Regions from separate parts of the Homo sapiens genome. Here regions 1, 2, 3, 4 and 5 are each linked to region 6. Evidence: promoter capture Hi-C in 16 types of primary human blood cells and fetal thymus (Javierre and others, 2016). All regions are on one chromosome and are shown on one strand. The core of a region is centred on a gene start or on the middle of the fragment in contact, and the rest is flanking DNA. Distances in the headings are between cores, read along the strand shown.

Region 1 (2,828 bases), core at 308-2,807, 240 kb before region 6:
GGTCTCCCCACCTTCAGCCTTGTCCTCCTCAAAAAAATTTTTTTTTCAAGAGATGGAGTCTCACTCTGTTGCTCAGGCTGGAGTGTAATGGCATGATCATAACTCACTGTGGTCACCTTGACCTCAAGTAATTCTCACACCTCAGCCTCCCAAGTACCTGGGACTACAGGTGCATGCCACCATACCTGGCTAATTTTTAAATTTTTTTTTGTAGAGACAGGATCTTGTATGTTGCCCATGCTGGTCTAAAACTCTTGGCCTCAAGCAGTCCTCCCAGTTCAGCTTCCTGAGTCGCTGGGATTACAGGTGTGAGCCATGGCACCTGGCCAAATTCATTTTTTAAATAATGTTATAATCCTGCTTAGATCCTTTAGTGATATCACATCGAGCATGCAACAGGATAAATTCTAACCCCGCCAAGACTCTCTAAGACTGATCTTTTTCTGTCCACTTTTGTGTTGAGCAGTTCTCTTCCTCAGATTCTGTGTTCTGTCAACTGTATCTAGCTTTGCTTTTTCTCTGAGACTGGGTCTTGCTCTGTCACCTAGGCTGGAGTGCAGTGGTGTGATCATGGCTCACTGCAGCCTTGACCTCCCGGGCTCATAGCTTTGTTTTTATTCACACATCATGATGTTTATGTCATTTTGCTTTTTGTTCATGGTTCCTCTTCTGTTGGAGACCTCTTCTTTTCCTCTTAGCCTGCTGCTAATACTTTTAGCCTGGTGATTAAGAGCTTGGGGCTAGGGTTGGCATTTTGGATTGTTCCATTTCTTTAGAATCCCAGCATTTAAGTTTTGTAAATTTTAATTTTGTAATCTTTTAAACTGGAATAACTTTACCTCATAGAGTTATTGCAAAGATTAGATGAGGTAATAAATAAAGAGCTTAGCACAGTGTCAGTTTTTAAAAAACAGTATCTCATCCTATCTCTAAGACTCAGCCAAGAGGATCTATATGTCCCTCTCTGTTGTGCGTATCTCTAATACTACTATTAACACACTACTTCATAGCTACTTTTGAATGGACCTTCTCACTAGCTTCTTAAAATCAAGGACTTCCAAGTTTATCTTTGTATCACTGGTATCTGGCACACAGACATTCAGTAAATATTTGTTTAATGTATGCATGGAGTTTGAAAGAGCTAATCATCTTTAGACAATGCCTTACCTTTTGCACAGGAAGCTTCTGTAAGTGTGTACCCTCAGTTCAAGTGATAATTTTTGTTTTCCTTTCTCTTTGCCAATAGTAAAGTCTTAAAATAGTAATTACATTTATTTCCACTGCACTGAGCTGTGATACCACAAGCTGAAAATCTAGGGAATCCATGGGAAGTTGGCACCCTTAAGGATTAGATCATTTTTCCATATTCAATTTGTATTCTTGTAGTTATGGAATTTGCTTTGAGGATAGTCAATGGAAATCCTTCATATTTGTGTAAAACTTGAGATTTAGATTTTTTAAAAAAGTATTTCCCATGAGATATATTAATGAGGCAATGCCTGATAATCCAGTTGCTTTTCCTGTTCCCCTACCCTCAGTAATAGTTCTTGGAGCGCTTACATGTGACAGACAACATCCCTACCAGATGTTATCTTCCCTTTTATAGATTAAAACGCTCAGGCTTAGGTTAAGTAACTTATTCAAAGTTCCAAAGCCAGAAAGTGGAGGAGCTGGAATTTAAGCCTTAGTTCTTCTAGTGCCCATTCTCTTTCCATTACACCATACTGCTTTTCTAAATAAACTGAAAATAATTTTCTTTTGTTTTTTCTTTTTTATTTTTTCTACCTTAAAGTCTTTTATCCCTTAATTTTATTTTGAATTTATAGTATTTAGTAGTGCTTTTAATTACTTAGTAACTATTTAAACATTTTAATAACAAAAAGAAACCTTTATGGTAAGATATTTAGGTAATATTTAAAGGGATAAAGCTTTTAAAAATTTTAAGCCTTAATTCAAGTAGTAGTTCTTTAAGGTATATGTATTTTATTTTTAATTTGAATCACCGTGAGGAGGATTTGCCATCTCAATGTTCTTAGACTTTAGCAGACTTATTTATTTCTTCCCCTGTTGCATAATCCCTATGCATTATATTGGTCGGGAGGCAGGAATGTTACAGATTCTTTTTTTTCAAAGCTCAGTTTGCTCTGAGATTTGGAATTAACCTTTAGAATGTTCTGGATTTATCCCCCATATGCCAAAGATCTGTAAATATCTTTTCACATGAGCTGAAATTTTCAGGCGATTAAGTGAAATATTTGTGAACGCAGATGTTTTGTTTAAAAGCAGTTAATGAAGTCAGAAAAAAAAATACCTCGCTGTGGAAATACTTTAGGTTCCTCCTGTAATATGATCTGCACATACTTCCTTCTCTTGTAATTCACATTGTTTATTTTCTGAGGGAGGAAATAACTACACTAATAATTAAAACATAAAATTATTTATCCTGTGTTTTTTGCTCCCAGAGTAAACTAAAAATGATTTTGACCGACCAGGGCTGCTTGATTCTGTGAAACTCACATTGTTTGCGTACTGTTGGAGGGCCTCATTAGGGGGTAAATTTGCTTTTTCTGTGTTTGCCAGTAACGATTCCTGTCTCTTACAGGAACTTGCCATTTGGATTGTCTCCTTCCTTAACTGGCCAGCCTTAAACAGTTCAGGCCATTAGTTATTTTTCCTAGTCTTGAAATTTTTAAAAAAATTATTCTTAAGTTTTCAAGTATTTAAAGCTGAGGATATTGGTCACTGAGATATTGCCTAGTTAGGGTTCGGCATTGTGCCCAAATTTGTTGGGCCTCTCAGGGCCTGAGTTCTCTGTGCTTTAACAAATG
Region 2 (3,039 bases), core at 263-2,762, 140 kb before region 6:
TTTATCTTATTTTGTTTGGAGATGGGGGTCTCACTCTGTCCCTCAGGCTGGAGTGCAGTGGCACGATCTCGGCTCACTGCAATCTCTGCCTCCCAGGCTCAAGTGATTCTCCCACCTCAGCCTCCTGAGTAGCTGCCACCACTCCTAGCTGATGTTTGTATTTTTGTAAAGACAGGGTTTCACCACATTGCCCAGGCTGGTCTTGAACTCCTGGACTCAAGTGATCTGCCCGCCTCAACCTCCCAAAGTTCTGGGATTACAGGCGTGAGCCACCATGCCCAGCACTTTTATGTATTTTTTATTTCGAATTTTATTTCATTATCATCGATTCAGGTAGTTTCATGAAATTTCTATCTTTTTGTATTTACTAGCATGTACACTGTAACATGATAAATGATCAATTTTTATGAGTCACATAGCTTTTTTATTGAGACATGCTCACTCTGTCGCCCAGGCTGGAGTACAGTGGCACAATCACAGCTCACTGCAGCCTCCAACACCTGGGCTTAAGCAATCCTGCCTCAGCCTCCTGAGCAGCTGGGACTGTAGGTACCTGTCACCAAACCCGGCTAATTTTTAAAAAATTTTTTGTAGAGAAGGGGATCTTGCTCTGTAGCCCAGGCTGATAAACTTCTGGCCTCAAACGATCCTATCTTGACCTCCCAAAGTTCTGGGATTACAGGCATGAGCTACCACACCCAGCCCACATAAGCTTTTTCGAAAGTATATTTCTCTTGATTATGTTTAATTTCCTCCAAATCTGTTAATTCTATTTTACAAGGTATTCAGTTTAAAACTATGACTTTTTTTTTTAGTATGCCTGATCTTCTATGATGGTGGAAAAACACTTCCACCAAAATCATGTTCCTATTTCTTACATACGTATTTTGTTAAGTTATTTAAAGCATGTAGAGCCAATAAAGTTTTTTCCATGATTTACTGTGCTTTTAACTGTCTTTATTGCTTCTGAAATGCATTTTGGTGTAAAAATCTACTTTTACAGATAAAACTTGAAGTTTTGGCTTTTTTATGCATATGTAGTGGGAGGTATGTACATGGTAACTTACAAAATACTCTTGTTTACTTAGGTCATTTTCCTTGAATAATTTGGAATTTATCTTATCTAGGGCTTCAACTAAAAAATGATGTGTTTCTATTTACAATTATATTCCTATCAATTACTTAAAGGGTTTTTTCCTGCAGGGAGAGCATCTCACTGGCACTGAGGCCAGGAAGGGAAGGCAGATATTATTGCTTTTTTCTTATTTAGTGCTCTTGAAATGCAGTGGAGGCCAGACGCGGTGGCTCATGCTTGTAATCCCAGTGCTTTGGGAGGCTAAGGCAGGTGGATCACTTGAGGTCAGGAGTTCAAGACCAGCCTGGCCAACAAGGTGAAACCCCATCTCGACTGAAAATACAAAAATTAGCCGGGTGTGGTGGAGCACGCCTGTAGTCCCAACTACTTGGGAGCCTGAGGCAGGAGAATTGCTTAAATTTGGGAAGCAGAGGTTGCGGTGAGCCAAGATCACACCACTGCACTCTAGCCTGGGTGACAGAGCAAGATTCCCTCTCAAAACAAACAAAAAACAAAACAAACAAAAAAACAAACAAACTCCACAGTGGATCATGCTCCCTAAAGTGGCATGAACTTCCAACGCTGGCTTAGTGACATATTAGGTAGAATATGCTTTGTTAATGATGGCAGCTATGCCAGATTGACTGAGGCTGTGAGGGTGTTTCATTTTGCTCTTCTCTTTGTACCTTAGGTAACTGGCTGTCTGCAAGATCATGGTTTTTCACCAAACATCTCCGTAAGTCCTGTTCATCAAACATACACACTACTTGTAAAACCCCCATGGCATTATCAGCCTAACAGTTCAAAAAACTTGTCACCTTTATATAAGTATTTAACACAAATTGGTATACAAATACAGGTAAATATACATAGATGTCTTATCAAAAATATCTTAAAAGATTTACTTGTAAATGGACAGAGATTATGAAGTCCCTTTTCCATAAGATTTTTAGATCCATGGCTTTCTTATATAGCAATAAAGCATTACTGAATCACAACTTCATAAACACTAACTATATAAAAGTAGACAACTGAAAACCACAGTTTCTAATATTAACACTAAAATTCACAATGTCAATATTCCAATTCCTCCTGTGACAGTCTTTGATGTATCCAGAGTTTCTCCAGGCTTAAGGAATATTCGCATCTCACTCTTATGAGAAACATGAATGTTTTATTCCCTCACTGCAGTAAATAAACTAAATTCCCAACAGTGCACTCAGAGTTACAAGCTTACATTATCTCCAAAGAGGAAAGAAAAAAAACAATTGAGGAAAACTAAATTTAGAAGATGAATCAGCGTACTAAATTAGTAAACTTGCAAACAGAAGTTTCTAAGAAGGACTGTAAGAATGTGACATGTAATCAGCTAACCCTCGGCATTTTCCTACTCCTCACTCCTGCTTCCAAACACCACAATGCTGCCCAAACATGGGGTCACACATGAACACAACACTTTCCCGAGCTTGAATCTACACATTTGATCCACATTAGCATTTTATCGACTAATATCCACCTTGGCCTCCATGCCAAGGATAGAGCTCTATTAAGTGAAACTGTGATAAAACAAGGCCTCCTGTCAACCCAAGCACCAAAGCCACTCAAAGGAAGTTTAGAATGAATTGACCTTCTCACCTCATCTACTGAATTATGTTACAGTGAGAAGGAATTAGCTACTCTGCTGTAAGAGGCTGTAATTATCCTATCAGTTCCTCTATAAAACAGTTTGGTTGGTAACCAGGAATAAAAACAACAACAAATGGATTATTTTGATGGCGTTAATGGAAGAGATGCTAAGATATCTCTAAGAAGCTGTATAAACTTAAGTCCTCATGAAGGATGGAAAAAAGGATGGAAAAAGGACCAATAACCCATGACACTTAAATTTCAAACACCCACTGAGATTCAGACATGTACTGGTAAACTCTCCCACACTCTTCAAAAAATACTAACAATTGAATTCA
Region 3 (2,811 bases), core at 92-2,591, 240 kb after region 6:
GACCACGTAACCAGCATGGCTCTAAAAACCAGGCCCACACAGCCATGGCTGCCACCGCTTCCTTCCAGCTACCGAGCAGTGATGGATGCAATGTACAGAGATCAAATTTAAGAGAGCAGCATAGTCAGAGACCACTCTTCCCTTGGAAAGAAGCAGTGCACCTTAACTTCTGGGATGCAGAGATTTGGGAGGAGTGAGTTTCCCCTGTATGCTTAGGGGTGGCCTGCTGTTTCTCCCAGTGGTTATAGGGGAGAATAATATTGTGACATAGGAAACTTTATTTCCTCTCTAGGAGGCCAAACAAAGCTCAGTATTTGAAATTCCATGTCTCTCTTTAGTCTCTGTTATTGAATTGAAGCTAATCAATTCAAATTCAGTTTCAGCAAGATTGGTCAGGGGAGGGTCCAGGGAAGGAAGGAAGGGAGGACTATTCATACCGTAAGATCGTCATCCCCATAATGAAGATCAAATGTACAGAAAATTGGTCAAACCAGTTTTTAACAATAAAGATTCGGCCAGGTGCAGTGGCTCACGCCTGTAATCCCAGCACTTTGGGAGACTGAGGTGGGTGGATCACAAGATCAGGAGATCGAGACCATCCTGGCTAACATGGTGAAACGCTGTCTCTACTAAAAATACAAAAATATTAGTCGGGCATGGTGGCGGGCGCCTGTAGTCCCAGCTACTTGGGAGGCTGAGGCAGGAGAATGGCATGAGGCGGAGCTTGCAGCGAGTCGAGATCATGCCACTGCACTCCAGCCTGGGCGACAGAGCAAGACTCCGTCTCAAAAAAAAAGCCTTCCTTGCCAGGTGAAAGCAAGAGTGGTATGGAACATTTATTTAAACATAAGAAGCAGAAGGTTCCTCCTCTTGCAAGTATGTTTTCTCTAAATGTAGCATTTCCACTGGAGGAGGTGGTCTGGGTGGATGGTTAATATGTGAGGATTGTGCAGCCAGGCAGATAACCAGGCCTCTGCATATACAGATACCCACAGCCCAGGAATCTTGAGAACTGAATGGCCCATAACAACCTCTGGCACTATCGGAGCTGCAGGGAGGCTTGGCTGGGGCTACTCCAGTCTCAGGCCCCTGTTTTTAGCGGAAGTCACAAGGAGGATAAAACCAGAATTCCTCCTTTTCCCATCTTCAGGGTGCTTCCCAGCTCCTCTTTAAGCTTGGGGCAGAACCCTTCACCCGGCAGGTACCCACATCCGTGGAGAACTGGTAAGCAGCTCTGGAGCACCACGCTGGGCACCACAGCTTGCCATTGCCCTGCTCTGTCCTGTGCCTTCATCTCCTCAGCTGTGATAGAGAAATAACACCAGCACCTACTTTGCAGGCTTCTACAAGGATTGACTTAAAAGATGTGAATTAAGTGGGCTGTGGGCTAGACATCATGTTAGGTTCTGGGAATATAATCTCCAGCAAGTCTGATGGGAGCCTCCCCTAGGGGAGCTTGGGCACCACCATTGCCTTTCCTTTCCAGGAGGCAGCTTGACAAAGCTTGCCCTGATGTGATTGACAAAGCTTGCCCCAGCTAGATCCATGGCCACGTGATTGAGGAGGTACCATTGTTGGCCAATGCCTCCCCTTCCCTCCCCTCCCACCTCCAGCCCAGTTCTCTTCTGCCCAGCACAAGAAAGATGCCACTCCCCAAGCACTAGCCGCTTCAGATTAGAGGGGCCTCCCGGGCCCAGGGCAGCCACAGGGCTCGGTCCCCTGTTTACGCTCCCTGTGCTTCCCACACTCAGGGTTGCAGCGGCAGCTGCAGGGGCCCAGGCCGGGGGTCAGCTGGCAGGGACTGGCCTCTGTGCGCCCTCTGTTGGCAGGACAGTGGCTAGAAGGGCTTCACCACTGCTGGCCCTCACAGGCACCTGGAGACACCAGACACTGTCCCTCAGCAGGGCTCTGCCGTTTGAACCCTCCTTTGCCTCCATAACAGAGACCCGGCATAAAACCACCCCACACCCTCCACCTTCTGCTTTGGGCTCCTGCAGCTGAGTAAATATTTTTCCTATCTCTTTGCCTGCATTCATGTTCAGTTATATGCAATAATCTCTCCTTAATCAGCCATAAAGCAAGGAAAAGGCAAAGCGCTATTCACATAGTGTGGGCACACTGTCCTTGATTTCTCTGAGAAGATGGTTTGAGTGCGAGCCTCCGTAGAGGAGAGAGTGTTGAGGTGCCCACCTTTGAGTGTTTGTGTGAGCCCCTGAAGGTGGAAAGTGCTATGTAAGTGCTGAGCTATTCAGCTTCCCAGGCGAGAGAAGATGCTTATCTTATTCATCCCTCTTTTATTTGTAAAATCTTTTTTGTCTCTTGACAGGTGATCTTTTTTTTTTCCTGGAAACCAATTAGCTACTAAAATTAAACATGCTTCTCTTTAAATTAATCCTTTTCATAAAATGGTCTTAAAATTGGCCTTAGCTTCTCAGAGTAAGTAGCTGACCCCATTGTAATTAGAGATGCGTTTGGAGTCCTCATTTCTCCCACCTCGGCATTCCTCTGCCCTTCCCCCTGCTGCTGCCAGGTGCTGTCCACCTTCGGGCTTTCGGCGCCACCGGCCTCATCTTGGCAAAGGTCAGATGTCGGCTCTGGGACAGCCGTCAGATTATCTAGTTCTGCTGCCCAAGTGCACTGACAGCAACTGGCAGAGTTGTAATCACTGTAAATTCAGGTGACGGTCAGATGAGCCAGGAGAGAGGATGCCTGCTGGTTGTTTTTTTGCAGTGATGTATTGTTTATGGGATTAATGTTCCGAATGGCCAAGGGTGTCAGCTGATATTTATTACTGTAAGCTGTCTCAGCTGT
Region 4 (2,901 bases), core at 52-2,551, 180 kb before region 6:
CTAGAAGTGTTTTTGCATCTTTAACAAATTCTGCTTCACTGGCTTTTTTCTTTTAAACCTTGAATTTTCTTCATGGTTCTGTTCTGTCTCTTCTCTTCCTTCTCTGCACACTAAGTGGTTTCATCTCCTCTAATACTTTTCATGATTCCATCTAGTATCTGTACGTAGATGATCTCAGTTATCTCTCAAGGCTGAATCTCTTTTAAGTTCTTGACCTTTGTTTCTAATTGCCTAATAAAAATCAGTTTACTTCAAACTTAGTATCACTAAAATAGAACTACTCTCACATCACTTCTTATCTAGTTTTCATATTTCTGTTCATCGTACCAACCACCTCTCAGAGACACCTTAGCATGGACATCATCATCTTTGACTCTTTAATGTTCCCCCAGCCAAATCTGCTCAGTTTGCCGGGTCTTATTTTACCTTGGTAATCTCTCTTGAATATATGAGTGAGCTGAGATCACGCCACTGCACTCCAGCCTGGCCGACAGAGTGAGACTCTGTCTCAAAAAAAAAAAAAGAAAAAAGAAAAAATTCTGAGAGTCAACTGGGTGATTCTGGGTTGCACAGCTGATCTCTCTATGCTCTTTCACATGTCTGTGGTTAGCTGGTGGGTGACCTGGCATCTGATCTACAATGGCCTCATGCACATGTCTGGCATTCACAGGCTGTTGGCCGAGTGCTTCATTTCTACATGTAGCCTTCTATCCTCCAGCAGACTATCTCACTGTCATGCACATAGTAGTCCATGGTTCCAAGTGCTGCAAGAGAGATTAAGCCTCAATACACACATGTTTTTCTAGGTCTCTGCTTGGATCCCATTTGCTGCTATACAAGCCTATATTCAAGGATAGAGAAATAGACTGAGTTCTAATGGGAGGAGCCACAAAATTGCATCACAAAGAGACAGGAAGAATTTGTGGCCATTGTTGGAGTGCATCACATTGTCTTTCCCCAGTTTATCCTAAAACAGCCACTAATTTAATTTTGTTTTACAACTCAGCCCCGATGGGATTATCCTCTGCTTTAAAACTGTCAGTAGTACCCTCTTGCCCCTAAATGGTGTAGAAACAGTAGCTTAATCTGCCTCAACCCATCTTTCTAGCTTAATTTTTCTCTGCTCCCCTTTCTCTACCCAAGTTGGACTAGTTTCACAACTGGTCCACCTAGCCTTTAAGGCCCAGCTCATATACCAGCACGTGCATGAATCCTTCCTAGATTTTCCTCTCCTTAGTCCTCACATTTGCTTCTCTCTACCTCTTAAGTTGAAATGGTGTTCCCTTCTTTGGTTTTCTCATAAATGTTTGCACCTTTCTTGTAGTAGTTGTGATTTTTTACCTTATAATTATATGTGTATGTGACCCACCTCGCCCACCACACTGACAACTCTTTTAAGAGCTGGAACCTAAGCTGGACATCACACCTGTAATCCCAGCTACTTGGGAGGCTGAGGTGGGAAGATTGCTTGAGCAATCTTCAGGAGTTTGAGTCCAGCCTGGACTTAAAATAGCAAGACTGTCTTAAAAAAAAAAAAAAATTAAAATTAAAAAAAATAAAGAGCTGGAACCTGAACTCGTTCATCTTCATAGCTATCCATGCGTAATATTCGGAATTCTGTCTTGCACATAGCCATCAAAATATTTGAGTTAATTTTTGAATAATGCTATTTCCCAATTATTATAATGTTATTTTAAAAATCAGTTAATTTTTAAATTTTTCTTTCAGACCAGAAACTAGAGAACAGTATCCAAATAAATTTATCCAGCGAGATGATACTGAAAGATTTTACATTCTGAACACACTATTCAACCTACCAGGTAGATTCATTCTATGCTTATTTATACTGATGCTTTCCCTTCTGTGACCATTAGTCTGTATTCAAGGGAGGTAATGAAATAAGTTTGAATTATTTCATTATAGCTTATGAATATCTGTTCTTCATTTTTCAGAGACCTACCTGTTGGCCTGCCTAGTAGATTTTTTTACTAATTGTCCCAGATATACCAGGTATGTATATACTATAATTATTTTTTTCCAATTGATTTTTAAAATTAATGCACAGGGTTTTAGAGAACTGGCCATTGTAGGTCTTTTCTGCTTTTCTAAAGTGAATTTAGTGCTAGTGAGAGATGCCACATTGCCAACCTGAGAGATGGGACAGCACCAGCAGCTCCATGCAGGCTCTCACCTCCCACACGGCCCCTCTCCTTGCCAGTGTGCTGCAGCCACCACTTCTGATTGGCTTCTCCTGGGAATGAAGACGGCCAGCAGAGGTGCTAATTGTGACAACTGAGTGGGAGGTTTGTGTGATGATTATCTGTCCAAGCAGAATTACACTAAAACCCCCCAACTCATTTCACAGCAGCTACCCAGGAGCCATTCAGGGATGGTAATTTAATTTCATTCCCAGGCCAGGCAAGATTTGATTAAGGAATAAATACTGTGTATCTTATCAGAAGTAAAATTTTGCGTAAGTCTTAAACAAGTTATCCTCTCCCTTTAGGGAGAATTATATAGCCAATACTGAAAGTTTAGCCATCTATATACCAGAGTTGGCTAACTTCTTATCCTCTTTGGGCTTTATCCACTTGAAGACACTAAATTTGGTGGAAAGCTGAGTCACTGAACTAAATAAAAAAATGGACAGTACCTTTGTACTTAGGGACAGTGTCAGGAAAGTCAGGGTGGAAAGAACCTAAATGACCAATTTTAAGTTTTAAATGTTTCTTCAACCTGTTTCTAAAAAGTGATAAATAAAAAAACCTGACATTTTTGGAACTTTGGCCTTTTAGCTTCCATTCAATATATTCTTCTATCACTTTGTATTTGTTCACAATTACTGTATTCCATTGAACACTATAGCCATTTCTGGTGGTCAAAGTGGACTTTCATTAGGGA
Region 5 (2,983 bases), core at 467-2,966, 200 kb before region 6:
AGTGAGAAAAACTATTTAAAGCAAGAAATATTATGCAGTATTGGTGTATTGTCACTACAGGCATCTCAAGTCCAGCATTAAAAAAATTTATGGTAAAATATATAGAATATAATATTACCATTTTAAACCATTTTCAAGTATACAATTCAATGGCATTAAGCACATTCACAAAGTTGCACAATGCTCACCACTATCCATTTCCAGAACTTTTTCATCATCCCAAACAGAAACTCCATACCCATTAAGCAATAACTCCCCATTCCCTCCACCCCTCAGTTGCTAGTAACCTCTAATTTATTTTGTCTCTATGAATTTGTCTGTTATAGGTATTTCATAAAAGTGAAATTATACAATACTTGTTTTGTGTCTGGCTTATTTCTTTTAGCATATTTTTTAAATTTGTCCATGTTATAGCATATATTACTTTTTGAGACTGAATAATATTCTACTGTAGGTATATACATTTGTTTATCTGTTCATCTGTTGATGGACATGGGGATTGTCTCCACCTTTTGGCTATTATGAATAGGCTGCTGTGAACATTGGTATTTAAGCATCTGTTTGAGTTCCTGCTTCCTGCTTTCAGTTGTTTTGGGTATATACCCAGGAATGGAATTGCTGGATCATAACGTAAATCTATGTTTAGCTTTTTAAAGAACTGCCAAACTGTTCTCTATAGTGGCTGTAACATCTTACATCCCCACCAGCAATACATGAATGAGAGTTCCAGTTTCTTCACATCTTGGCAATACTTATTTTCAGGTTTTTTGTTGTTGTTTGATAATACTCATTCTACTGGGTGTGAAGTTACGGTATCTTATGGTTTTGATTTCATGTTTCTCTAATGGCTGGTGATATTAAGCATCATTTCATGTGTTTATTTAGTCAGTTATATAACTTCTTTGGAGAAATATCAGTTTTTTAAAATTAGGTTTTTAAAATAACTGTGGAGTTACACATTCTGCATATTAATCTTTATATATTCTGGATATTAATCCCTCATCAGATACACAATTTGCAAATATTGTCTCTCATTCTGTGGGTTTTCTTTTCCCTCTCTTGATCATGGCTTTTGAGGCACAAAAGTTTTTAATTTTGAAGTCCAGTTTATCTGTTTTTTTCTTTTGTTGCCAGTGCTTTTTGCTGTCATAGCTGTGAAATCATTCCCAAATCCAATATAAGGAAGATTTTCTGCCATGTTTTCTTCTAAGAGTTTTATAGTTTTAACTCCTACATTTAGGTCTTTGATCCATTTTGAGTTTACTTCTTTTCTTTTCTTCCTTTTTTTTTTTTGAAACAGGGTCTCACACTGTCATCCAGGCTGGAGTGCAGTGGTGTGATCTCAGCTCACTGCAACCTCTGCCTCCCAGGCTCAAGTGATTCTCCCATTTCAGCCTCCCAAGTAGCTGGGACTATAGGCTCGTGCCATCATGCCTGGCTAATTTTTTTATTTTTTGTAGAAATGGGGTTTCACCATGTTGCCCAGGCTGGTCTCTAATTCCTGGACTCAAGCAGTCCACCAGCCTCAGCCTTCCAGAGTGCTGGGATTACAGGCATGAGACTGCAACTGGCCACGCCTTTTTTTTTGTTTAATGAAACCAATGACAATGTAAAAGTCTGTGCTTTAGCATTTCTTCTTAAAGAACGATGAAACTCTTTGATGAATTAAGATGGAAGATTAGCTGAGCTGAACTTACTATTGATAGCGTGTAAACTGGTTGCATCTATTTGGAGTTCTTACTGTGACGAGAGGTCTCTGAAAGGAATGTATTTGTTGAAAAGTCTTTGGTACAAAACAAGAAAGGTAACCTTTATCAAAAAGACCAAAGAAATTCTCATTGTCCTAGGTCATGAAATAATACTCAGGGCATCCTCCTCACAACTTGGAAAATATAGAACTTGTGCATTACCTCATCCCACTGGCTTCCAGATTATATGTGCAAGAGATATTTGTGTGAGGGAATGAGCACTTCTAAGTCAGTGAAAGCTACCAACCTGTATATACCCTCTGACTTTTTTTTGGAGACAAAATTTTGCTCTTGTTGCCCAGGCTGGAGTACAATGGCGCGATCTCAGCTCACCGCAACCTCTGCCTCCTGGATTCAAATGATTCTCCTGCCTCAGCCTCCTGAGTAGCTGGGATTTCAGGCATGTGCCACCATGCCTGGCTAATTTTGTATTTTTAGTAGAGATGGGGTTTCTCCATGTTGGTCAGGCTGGTCTTGAACTCCCCATCTCAGGTGATCCACCCATCTTGGCTTCCCAAAGTACTGGGATTACAGGTGTGAGCCACTGTGCCCGGCCCTCTGACTTATTCTTGAGAGATTTATCAGTTTGTGAATGGATCAAAAGCATACAACTGAAAATTAAAGAACAGAAAAATAGATGTAGTTTGACTTACTACATCTTAAAAATGCATTCATGATCTCCCTTAGTGATCTTTTTTCTTAAGAGTTTTTGGACTCTTGCCCTCCCCCACAAATAGGGTAGAATAAGAGAATAAGCTGAGTATTTAAACTAGGGTAACAGATAAAAAGAAAAAAAAAATTCCCTCTCCAAAAAGAGATGATCCCTTAAAAAACAAACAAACAAAAAAGATAATTGTGGTTAATAAAATTAATAAAAATAAATTAGAAAACATTCATAAAACTAAACAAAGTAAAAATCTAATCAGAATATATCATAAGGACTCAACCCCTAAAGGAGATTTGTGAAGATGAAATGTGATGATTTTGTCCAGGCATGGTGGCTTATTCCTGTAATTAATGCCAGCACTTTGGGAGGCCGAGGCAGATGGATTGCTTGCACCTAGGAGTCCAGGACCAGCCTGAGCAACATAACAAAACCGCATCTCTACAAAAAATGCAAAAATTAGTTGAGCGTGGTGCACGTCTGTAATCCCAGCTACTCTGGAGGCTGAGGTGGGAGAATTGCTTGATCCTGGGAGGCGGAGGTTGCAGTGAGCTGAGATTGTGCCACTGCA
Region 6 (2,905 bases), core at 166-2,665:
TATAGACGGTGCCTATCTCCTGGCCCAGGACGCAGTCCAGCAGCTTGCTGACCGGGTAGGAAGCGGGGAAGGTCATCATCATGAAAAACTTGGTGAGGAAGATGGTGTTGGCCCCCACAGCCAGGCCATGCCGGGAGCAGATGGCCTGGGGCACGATCTCTCCGAAGATGACGATACCGATGGTGGAGACTACCACGGCCACGAGGCCCGAGCCGGCGATGTCGTCGAGCAGGATGGTGAGCGTGGTGTTGACCAGCACGTTGCCCAGCAGCAGTGAGCACAGCAGGTAGTTGCCCTGCCTGCGCACCGGCTCGATGCGCTTGGCGTAATTCTTCTCCTTCTCCGTGCCGCAGTTCTGCACGATGCGCAGCTCCATCGGGTCCAGGGCCATGAGCCCCAGGTTGAGGCCGCTGAACATGCCCGACAGGCACAGCAGCAGCGAAATGAAGATCACCTGCAGCCAGAAGGGCAGCAGGAACTTCTTCTCTTCGCCTACGATCATCTTGGTGTCCTCGCCGTCGTGGTAAATCCAGGTGGTCTCGGCCCACGGGGGCGGCGGGAGCCCGGCCACCCCCGAGCCACCCTTGCCCCCGACGGCGCCACCCGTGGACCCCGAGCCGCCGGCGCCCAGGGCGGGCGTGGAGAGCGACGTGCACAGGTAATAGGACTTGCTCTTCTCCATCTTGCGTAGCGGTTTGATCTCGATCTCGATGATGCCCGAGGTGCGGCGGTTGAGAATGATGTGGGGCAAGATGATGATGTCTGAGGTGCGGATGCCGCATCGCTGGGGGCCGCTGTCCGGCTCTGGCGGCGCGGGGCCCCCCAGCCCGCGCTCCCCCGGGCTGTGGCGCCGCCGCTCGTGCTCGGTGAAGGCGATGCGGGACCACGTCTCGTTATTGATGTTCTGCCCGTACACCCGCAGCTTGACCCGGGTCCGTTCGCTCACCCGCAGCGCCCCCCCTTCCATGAACGACACGTCGTTCGTGTCCTCCAGTCGCAGCCCGATGATCACCGTCTCCTCATTCTCGCCCACCGCTGCGCAGCCGCCCGCACCGCAGCAGCAGCTCAGCAGGAGCAGCGGCAGCAGCCGCCCCGCAGCCGCCTGCAGGATCCCCCGGCCGCGAGCGCTGAGGCTGCGGCGCGCCGCCATCTTCCAAGTGGGCAGTGCGGCGGCTGCCTGCCCGCCCGCCATCTTTACTTTGGGTTCACAAGCGCCACAGCCAATCATAGGGTGGCTGCTCCAGCTGCGGCTTCATCCTTTCAACCCGGCGGCGCGAGCGCAGGTACCGGCCCCTGGGCGAGACTGCAACGGAGCGTCCGCGGCCAGTGCTCAGCAGTTCGCCTCCCTGACTGACACTGACTCCACCTCAGCCAGCTGAGGAACCCCGAGGCTCGCGGGAGGGAAAGAGGGAGGGAGAGGAGCGCCGGCTGCTCCCGCGAGAGGCAGGCCGACCAGCCAATCACAAGCGGGTGCCCGCCCTCCCAGCCAGGGGGCTGGAATGGGGGCGTGACCGTGTGCCGCTCCGCGGACCAATGGCAAGGTAAGTGGGTGGGGCGACGAGAGCCACCGTCCCCGTCTGCACGCCAAGTTTCCAACTGAAAGGCGCGTGACTCTTGTGTATGTGCGAGGGGAGGGGGCGTGGCCATCTGGGACTCGAGAGCCAGTCAAAGATGAGAGCTGAAGAAAAAGGGGCGTGGCATCCGTCCTGCTGCCAATGGGAAGGAGCCGTCCCTGGGGCCCGCGCTCCCCAGGGGCCCCTGTAGTAGATCCCGGAGCCTGGACCGGCCAGGTTTGGACTAAAGCCCTGCGGCGCAAGGCGGCAGGTTCCCGGTGCACCGGTTACTGGCTCTCCAGTTCTCAATTCGTAGGCACAAAGCCGCGCGCCCTCCTGCCCCGGAAGCCCGAGAAGCCAACTAGAGGCGGCTTGGGATGCACACAGCCTAAAAAGCCGGGGCACCGGCCGCTGTCCCCAACTCCACCTGCGCGGCGCTCCGCCGGGGTAAGCGGCGTCGGTGGCCCCGGCACAGCTGCGGACCAGCAGTCCTCGCGCCTCGAGACTCCTAGGGTACGGGCTCTCTGCGGCTCGCGATCACGTGGCGCCACCTGCGGGCAGCATGAGCGCCCTGCAACGCTTTCCAGGTCGGCGGCGTACCCCAAAAGGTGTGCAGAAGTTACGGATGGAGCGGTCAGGGGGACAGTTCCCCAAATTTCCTAGTCATAGAACCCCTACATATTATTGCTAGGAGTATATACTTCCTAGACCTTTTCCCATATTTACAGAGTGGGAAGGGCCCCGAATCTGTATTCCCAGCAGGAATTCAGGCAAGTTAAGGAAATGGGAGGGGGCAAGCATCCTAAACAGACCCACAGAGGCTCATTCTTAATCACACTGACCAAACTCTGCTAGGGTCTTAGGTCACTCAAGAGCAAAAAGTTCTGGAAACCTAGCTCCCCAGTACTCCCAACGTCACCTGGAGGTGACGAGGTAGCAGAGTAGCTGCCAAATTGGTCTTTTCCTTGAAACTTAAAACATTCAGGCCGGGCGTTGGTGGCTCACGCTTGTAATCCCAGTACTTTGGGAGGCCGAGGCGGGCGGAGCATGAGGTCAGGAGATCGTAGACCACGGTGAAACCCCGTCTCTACTAAAAATACAAAAAATTAACCGGGCATGGTGGCGGGCGCCTGTAGTCCCAGCTACTCGGAGAGGCTGAGGCAGGAGAATGGCGTGAACCCGGGAGGCGGAGCTTGCAGTGAGCCGAGATCGCGCCACTGCACTCCAGCCTGGGTGACACAGGGAGACTCCGTATCAAAAAAAAAAAAAGAAAAAAAAGAAACTTAAAACATTCAAAATGTTTAATGTTTCTCTACCTCTTTTGTATTCTACAAGCACATCCCGCGCCCCCC

What was found. The method cuts DNA at HindIII sites, captures the fragments that hold promoters and counts their contacts. A CHiCAGO score of 5 or more calls a contact.
Region 1: a fragment that was not itself captured here is called in contact with the fragment with the promoter of CNNM2 in region 6 in 4 of 17 cell types (M1 macrophages, megakaryocytes, erythroblasts and 1 more); the score reaches 7.3 in M1 macrophages.
Region 2: a fragment that was not itself captured here is called in contact with the fragment with the promoter of CNNM2 in region 6 in 15 of 17 cell types (megakaryocytes, erythroblasts, endothelial precursors and 12 more); the score reaches 35.2 in megakaryocytes.
Region 3: a fragment that was not itself captured here is called in contact with the fragment with the promoter of CNNM2 in region 6 in 1 of 17 cell types (megakaryocytes); the score reaches 5.1 in megakaryocytes.
Region 4: a contact is called between a fragment that was not itself captured here and the fragment with the promoter of CNNM2 in region 6, in 7 of 17 cell types (megakaryocytes, erythroblasts, M2 macrophages and 4 more). The highest score is 11.8, in megakaryocytes.
Region 5: a fragment that was not itself captured here is called in contact with the fragment with the promoter of CNNM2 in region 6 in 3 of 17 cell types (erythroblasts, megakaryocytes and M2 macrophages); the score reaches 9.0 in erythroblasts.

What each region holds. Positions count from the first base shown.
Region 1 is chr10:103,153,382-103,156,209 of GRCh38, reverse strand. All of the region lies in intron 3 of NT5C2 (5'-nucleotidase, cytosolic II), which reads left to right. Among named protein-coding and RNA genes, the nearest start is that of NT5C2, 38 kb to the left of the region's middle. The HindIII fragment of the contact is 746 bases long and covers 1,185-1,930 here.
Region 2 is chr10:103,057,525-103,060,563 of GRCh38, reverse strand. The region is part of intron 4 of CNNM2 (cyclin and CBS domain divalent metal cation transport mediator 2); the gene reads right to left. Among named protein-coding and RNA genes, the nearest start is that of NT5C2, 130 kb to the left of the region's middle. The HindIII fragment of the contact is 1,595 bases long and covers 715-2,309 here.
Region 3 is chr10:102,677,946-102,680,756 of GRCh38, reverse strand. The region is part of intron 5 of ARL3 (ARF like GTPase 3); the gene reads left to right. Among named protein-coding and RNA genes, the nearest start is that of TRIM8, 35 kb to the right of the region's middle. The HindIII fragment of the contact is 329 bases long and covers 1,177-1,505 here.
Region 4 is chr10:103,100,154-103,103,054 of GRCh38, reverse strand. NT5C2 (5'-nucleotidase, cytosolic II) reads left to right here. Exons shown (of 19, transcript NM_001351169.2): 7 at 1,729-1,820; 8 at 1,953-2,010. Among named protein-coding and RNA genes, the nearest start is that of NT5C2, 92 kb to the left of the region's middle. The HindIII fragment of the contact is 6,803 bases long and covers 1-2,901 here.
Region 5 is chr10:103,118,409-103,121,391 of GRCh38, reverse strand. All of the region lies in intron 4 of NT5C2 (5'-nucleotidase, cytosolic II), which reads left to right. Among named protein-coding and RNA genes, the nearest start is that of NT5C2, 73 kb to the left of the region's middle. The HindIII fragment of the contact is 5,128 bases long and covers 1-2,983 here.
Region 6 is chr10:102,916,804-102,919,708 of GRCh38, reverse strand. It overlaps CNNM2 (cyclin and CBS domain divalent metal cation transport mediator 2), which reads right to left and starts at 1,415. Exons shown (of 8, transcript NM_017649.5): 1 at 1-1,415. The coding sequence starts at 1,228. It overlaps LOC107984265 (a long non-coding RNA gene), which reads left to right and starts at 1,374. Exons shown (of 3, transcript NR_160733.1): 1 at 1,374-1,541. RefSeq lists silencers at 740-829, 1,440-1,619 and enhancers at 1,089-1,775, 1,776-2,462. The HindIII fragment of the contact is 7,117 bases long and covers 1-2,905 here.